2 separate regions of the Homo sapiens genome follow, and region 2 is linked to region 1. The links are contacts of gene promoters, found by promoter capture Hi-C in blood cells and fetal thymus (Javierre and others, 2016). All regions are on one chromosome and are shown on one strand. The core of a region is centred on a gene start or on the middle of the fragment in contact, and the rest is flanking DNA. Distances in the headings are between cores, read along the strand shown.

The links. Contacts are between HindIII fragments. The CHiCAGO score rates a contact against its expected background, and 5 or more counts as called.
Region 2: the fragment with the promoter of REPIN1 here is called in contact with the fragment with the promoter of ATP6V0E2-AS1 in region 1 in 10 of 17 cell types (fetal thymus, endothelial precursors, megakaryocytes and 7 more); the score reaches 15.2 in fetal thymus.

What each region holds. Positions count from the first base shown.
Region 1 is chr7:149,872,419-149,875,416 of GRCh38, forward strand. It overlaps ATP6V0E2-AS1 (ATP6V0E2 antisense RNA 1), which reads right to left and starts at 1,444. Exons shown (of 4, transcript NR_027040.1): 1 at 806-1,444. It overlaps ATP6V0E2 (ATPase H+ transporting V0 subunit e2), which reads left to right and starts at 1,551. Exons shown (of 4, transcript NM_145230.4): 1 at 1,551-1,751. The coding sequence starts at 1,648. RefSeq lists silencers at 1,078-1,287, 1,318-1,397, 1,808-1,987 and enhancers at 1,350-2,318, 1,648-1,787. The HindIII fragment of the contact is 7,156 bases long and covers 1-2,998 here.
Region 2 is chr7:150,367,297-150,370,294 of GRCh38, forward strand. It overlaps REPIN1 (replication initiator 1), which reads left to right and starts at 1,526. Exons shown (of 3, transcript NM_001099695.2): 1 at 1,526-1,645; 2 at 2,375-2,572. The coding sequence starts at 2,416. All of the region lies in intron 3 of REPIN1-AS1 (REPIN1 antisense RNA 1), which reads right to left. RefSeq lists enhancers at 1,000-1,059, 1,099-1,903, 1,904-2,709, 2,710-2,998 and silencers at 1,310-1,779, 2,290-2,439. The HindIII fragment of the contact is 10,402 bases long and covers 1-2,998 here.

The DNA of each region.
Region 1 (2,998 bases), core at 194-2,693:
CTCTTAACTCTATCTCCTGGATGCCAAGTGCACCCTTATCCTAGGCCAGTGTTCTCAACAATGTACACACTCTGGATGAGAAAAATAACCATTGTTTACAATCCAGCTAAAATCTCACCTCCTCCAGGGAGTCTTCCTGGATTTCTCCACCCTCTGAATTCTCATAATGGGCATTTGGCTACTTTGATCACAGGGCTCTTAGAACTGCGCTGTCCAGCATTATGATTTTACCAGAATATATCACTCCTCAACTACTTTAGAAACCCCTCGAAGGCTAGGATGGTATTTTATACCTAACAGTTTGGTGTCATCCCACGCCCACCTCCAACTTACATGAATGTTGGAAGGATGGATAGGGAGGTTTCAACTAGAGAACGGAGAAGGGCGGATGTAACTGGTTCTTGATTTCAGAAAACAGCCAGGAGCACACATGGCTGACGGGGTCAGTGCAAGGACAGGCACATTTCCCTTCTGCATCACGTGGGGACTGCGCCTCCCTATGTCATGAAGCCAGGGAATATGTGTGGCCGGCCGCTTGGGGTAGCACTTGTTGCTAGAGATACCGCCTGGAGGCCACTGATCTGTAAAAGGGATCTCTACAGAAGATAGGGATTTTTGATCGCCAGAGAAGAAGGGATATGTGAGATCCAAACGCCGAAGGAGGAAAGCAGGCTCCGTGGTCTCTTCCAGCCCTGATGGAAGAAACTACCGAGCCTTATTATACTAGGTGCTTTCCACATGCCTATTCATTTAATCCTCCAGCAACCTTGTAAGAAGGGCCATCCCATTTTATATTTAAACAAACCTTAACTACTGACGCAAGGAGTCAAGGATCTAATCCCAAAGCCTCTGCCTGGTTCGCTGCAGATGGATGTCCGCGAGGACGCCAGCCCTCCGCCTCCCGCCGGGTCCCTGAACGCCGGCCCGGCCGGTCCAACCTCATTCCGCTTCCCGCCATCGAAACGCGAAGCCCCCGCCTTCCCCCAAACGTCTCAGCGCCGCTGGGGCCTTTCTGGCTGCGCCGCCTCCGACCCCAGGCCCCGGTCCGCGCCCGCCGCTCGCTAGTCCTGGGAGTGAGGAGAACGCGTGCTGAGGACCCGGCCAGAGGGACAGCGGGGACCGCCCTCCCGCTGCGTCTCTGAAAGCGAGGCCGTTCCTCCCGCGTCCGACCCCCGCGGGGCCGTCAGGTTCGGGGCGGCCCAGGCTGCGGGTCCGCAGGGCGCTTCGGGCCGAGCCGGCGCGGCGCGTGAAGGGCAGGGGACGCCCCGAAAGACCGCTGGGGTGGGACCCCAAGCTCCAGGGGTCTTTGGAAATAAGAATGCGGCGTGACGTTGGCTGTGCGGGCGCGGGGCTGACGCGGACCCTATAACCCATCGCCGAAACCGGGCGGCCGCGCCCCTATTCCTCGGCATTTCTCTCTGTCCGCGGCCCTGCTCAGCCAATCAGCGAGTGGGCTCCTAGGCAGGTCCTGAGTGACAGCGCGGCGGGCTGGATCAGGAGATGCGCGTGCGCGGCCCGGCCCGGCTGATCGCTTCGGGTGCTCGACTCCTGTTGCGCATGCTCAGCGCGCTGCCCGGCTGGGGACCCGCGCACCTGCAGCGCCCGCTGCTCGGCCCTGCATCCTGCCTGGGCATCCTGCGCCCGGCCATGACGGCGCACTCATTCGCCCTCCCGGTCATCATCTTCACCACGTTCTGGGGCCTCGTCGGCATCGCCGGGCCCTGGTTCGTGCCGAAGGGACCCAACCGCGGGTAAGGAAAGCGCGCAGGCCCTGCAGACCTCTCCACCCCGGCCCCCTGGCCCGGCTCGCCCCTCCGCCCCGGGGCGGCGGCTTCCTGCTCTGCAGCGAGCGTCCGCAGGAGGGACGCCAGGACCCCGGACGCCACCTCTGAGGTCTCTCTGCACCTGGGTCTCTGACAGCCGGGAACAGGCAGGAGGTGGGGCGAGAGGGCATATCCAGAAGGTAAAGAGGAGAGTGACATTGGAGATGTCTGTCACCCCTCCTGCAGCCAGTAAAGGGCACAAGTGGGCACTGACGCAGTTTCTCCACTCCTTGCTAGCTGTGTGACCTAGAGCCAATATCAAGTCTCAGTTTCTTCATGGGTAAAATGGAGATAATGTCGACTCCTGCCTTAAAAGGCTGCTGTGAGGATGACCTGCGGTAACGCATTTAAAACACCTACCAGTGCGTGACACTTTGTAGGTATGGGATAAGTTTAGCTGGCGTTATTTTTCGAAGGTCCTCTAGCAGATTGCTGCGCCATTCACCAGTTTCTGCTTCATATTATCTTCAGTTACAAAGCACCCTTCCCTTGACTGCATGTTCCCAGGGGCTGGAGTTTGTCCAGTTCACCATTGTCTACTCAGTGCCCAGCCAGGACTGGCACAACCTGCTTAGTAATGTTGAAAAAGGGATCGCGTGCTCCTGTGTCCAGCACCAGCTTGCAGTGCTTTAGATCAAAGATCAAGGGCCTCGTTTGGATTAGAGTTAGCTTTGCCCAAAGGCCGTTTGGACATGTGAGTGCTGCCTTTGTTCTTAAAGACAGGCAGGGTTTGGGATCCCACAGCTTCACTTTGTAAACCATTTTCGTGTCTTGCGTCTCCTGCTATTCTTGGTGAGTTCTTGCTTCAGTTTGACTGAAATTTCTTTTGCTGCACTTGAAGCATCTGTCTCTGGTCTTCTCTGAGTACACGCAAAGTGGCTAGTCCCTGTTCTCTTTGTAACAACTCACTGGGCCTCAGAACTGGCTCACAGTCTGCCTGCTTCTTGCCCTGTCTTCTAGCCTATTGTTTTCCTTCCCCTTGCTCCATGAATTTTGAATTCTACAGACCACTCCCTGTTGGGTTGCCACAAATGCAGCTCTGTGCAGTGCCTTTCCACAACACGTCTGCATTAAGATGGAGCAATATTGGGTGGTAGAGAAGGGAAATGAAGGGAAGGATTCTTAAGGCAACTTGGATGTGGTCAAGGTTGGCCTCTCTGTGAGGTGACACTTTC
Region 2 (2,998 bases), core at 276-2,775, 490 kb after region 1:
AAAAAAAAAAGTTAACAAGTACGAGGAAACACGTCTGCAACAAACATGACAAGTCTTTAATACCTGTACTTTATGAGTGCCCCCCAAACAATAAACCAACTCCCCAACTTTTAAAATGGGCAAATAGAAAAGTGGGCAAATGGACATAAACAAATTCACAAGAGAAAATAAAACTGGCAAAAAATAACCATGTGAAAAAACAATCCAGCTAACTAGTACTCTAAGAAATGCAAGTACAAAAGATGAGAAATAACCATTTCAAACTAAATTTTTTTTTTAAAAAAGTCTGTGTTGTCAAGTATATGGAAAATGGGCATTTCTCAGGGAAAACTAATACGTTTTCCTGGAAGATAATTTAGAAAACATTTAAAAAATATATTCCTTTTATACAGCCATAAATAATCATGTTTAAAAGAATATCTAATAAAATGGAAGAAAATTCACAAGATCGTGTTAAGTGAAGAAGGCAGAATACATCTTCGCAAGGCATTATTCCAATTATGCCAGACATGCCATGGATATACGTAGAGAAAACACCGGAGGCAACATACCAAAATATTAAATGTAATTGACTCTACGAGGTAAAACTGAGTTTTATGTTCCCCTATTTCCTATTTATGCAATAGATTTAAAAAGTATTTTTACGACTAATTATACAATTCAAAAATTGCCTGTGTTGAAAAGCATGAAAGTACATGAAATTGTACTACCCTGGAAACCCCAGGAAGTGTTTAGTTTGGAAAGCCAGGGCCACCTGCTAGTGGGTGAGTCATGGGCACAGGCTCGCACCTGCCACCGCAGACGCCACACAGGCTGCTGAGCCTTTCCAAGCGAAATGCCCCACGTGCGCCAACGGCCACCTCGGCCGTCGCCCCACGCTTGGCCCGCAGCCAGAGGAAGCCCAGCAACTTCTGCTCTTTCTTAATTTCTAGAAAAGAGTGAAGAGAGGCCTTTTCAAAGTTCGCAGGATCGGGCCTTTTTGTGCTCCACTTTGGAACAAATCGGAAGCTAGGGCCTTCCAGGTGCGCCACCGCCGTCCCGGGACCGCCGCGGCCGCAAGCGTCCGCACTGCGGCCGGGGTGCGCGGCCTGAGAAAGGCCCGGGCAACGACGCTCCGGGGGCTTGCCGGAGCCCTCTTTGAAGTCTCCCGACGGGCTCCCAGCCTCTCATAAGGCAGCTAAGGCCGAACACCCCGGTGACCATAGGCCAGCCACGCGGTCGCCCGGGGACGCGCGTGCTCCGCAGGGACAAAGGGTCGGGAAACTTGAGCTCCGGCCAGTCCCAGAGAAACCCGGGCTGGTGGTCGCCATGGCAACGGAGTCCGACCCTCCGAGGCCTGCCGCCCTGGCGCGGCAGTGGCTTGAGTGACCCGGCCCGCTCTTGGCGGGGGCGCCCGCGCCCCGGCCCCGGCAGTCCCTCCCCGCCCCCAGGCCGCGGCCGCGGGAGCCGGCGACTGACCCTCGGCAGCTCCTGTAGTCACGTGGCGCTGGGAACCCGGCGGGGGGAGGTTGGGGACGGGCCTGGCAGTTGTGAACTCGAACCTGCCGCTGTCGCCGCGGCGGGGCGGGGAGCGAGAGTGGGCCGCGGAGGCCGGCCTTCGGGCTCCATGGACGGGCGCCGCGTCCCTGCACAGCCCGCCGCAGAGGTACGGCCGGGGCAGGGGCGCGGGGCCACCGCGGGCCCGCGGGGGGCCGCTCCACCTGCGGGGCGCGTGACCGTGAGTGTGCGCGACCGTGTGTGAGTGCGCGGGGGGGGACGCTGCTGGATCTGCGGGGGTGGGGGAGCGCACCTGCGCACAGGCTCCGCGAGCTGCGCCGTGCGTGGGACCCGAAATGGCTCACTCGCAAGAACGGGACCCGTGTGCCCGGGAGCGTGGACGGAGGACACGCATCAGTACAAAAGGGCGGTGTGGGGCTTCTGCCACCCGCGGCCAGCCGCGATGCGGAAGGGGATTCTGACGGAGTCGTGGTCACACCAGCTGGCCCTGCGCAGCCCCATGGGAAATAGGCCTGGAATTCCTGTCGGGAGGAGGCTGGGGGAAGGGGAGCCAGCAGGGATTCCAGAGTTCCTGCCATAGGCCGGCCTTTGGCCATCAGGGAAAGCCCAGACTCTGGCCACAGAATGGAGAATTCGTTCCGTGACCTTACCAGGGAAGAAAGTGACCCCGAAAGACAGCAGTGTGCTTCCTTGTTGAAGGGGCACATTCATTTATTAATCCAATGTCCATTAAGGTCACTCTGCCAGGCAGGATGTGGGGCTTATGGCTGGTGCGTGTGGCTTTGTGGGGGGAGGGGTTGTGGCTGGTGAGGACACAAAGCTGACTGCCCTAGAGGAGCTCAGAGCCTCACTTCTGTTTTCTCTTCCCTCCCCACAGGTAAGGCTGGCCTCTCTGCAGTCAGAGGTCTGAGCTCTGCCATGGGGATAGGGGTGTCTTTATTACTGCAGTTTTCTCTAACACCTGGGGGCTACCGGAGTGTGGGCCGAAGCAGGCGCTGCAGCCGCGGAAGTATCCCCAGGAACATCCCCAAGAGGAGCTGGAAAAAGCCTCATCCCCAGCTCTGCAGTCTCCAGGGTAGAGTCTGGCCTTTGCTGTGCTCCCAAACCACGCCACAACAGGGGTGCACGGGCGTCCCCATCCCGGCGGAAGGAAATGGCCCTTTCTCATATCCTGGGGTCTTCCCTGTGCACAGTCTGACACTGGGAATGAGTGACCTTTGTGTTCCCTGAGAAGAGAGAGTGCGCTCTAGGGAATTTAGAAGGATGTGTCTGGAGCTTGTGAGCAGGCACAGAAGGGCCCTTAGGAGCCTAACTGCTTCCTTCCTCCTTCCGCGGAGGAGGCTCCTGTGCAGGAATCTGGGCTCCCCTGAGCTGTGGAAGAGCTGAACATGGGGCAGCCCCTGGCGAGGTTGGGGCAGGACCGGGCAGGGGACTGAGATTGCAGTCTCATCTTCCCTCCCCTTCTATTGCCCCAGTAATCTCCAGCACCCCGAGGGAGGCA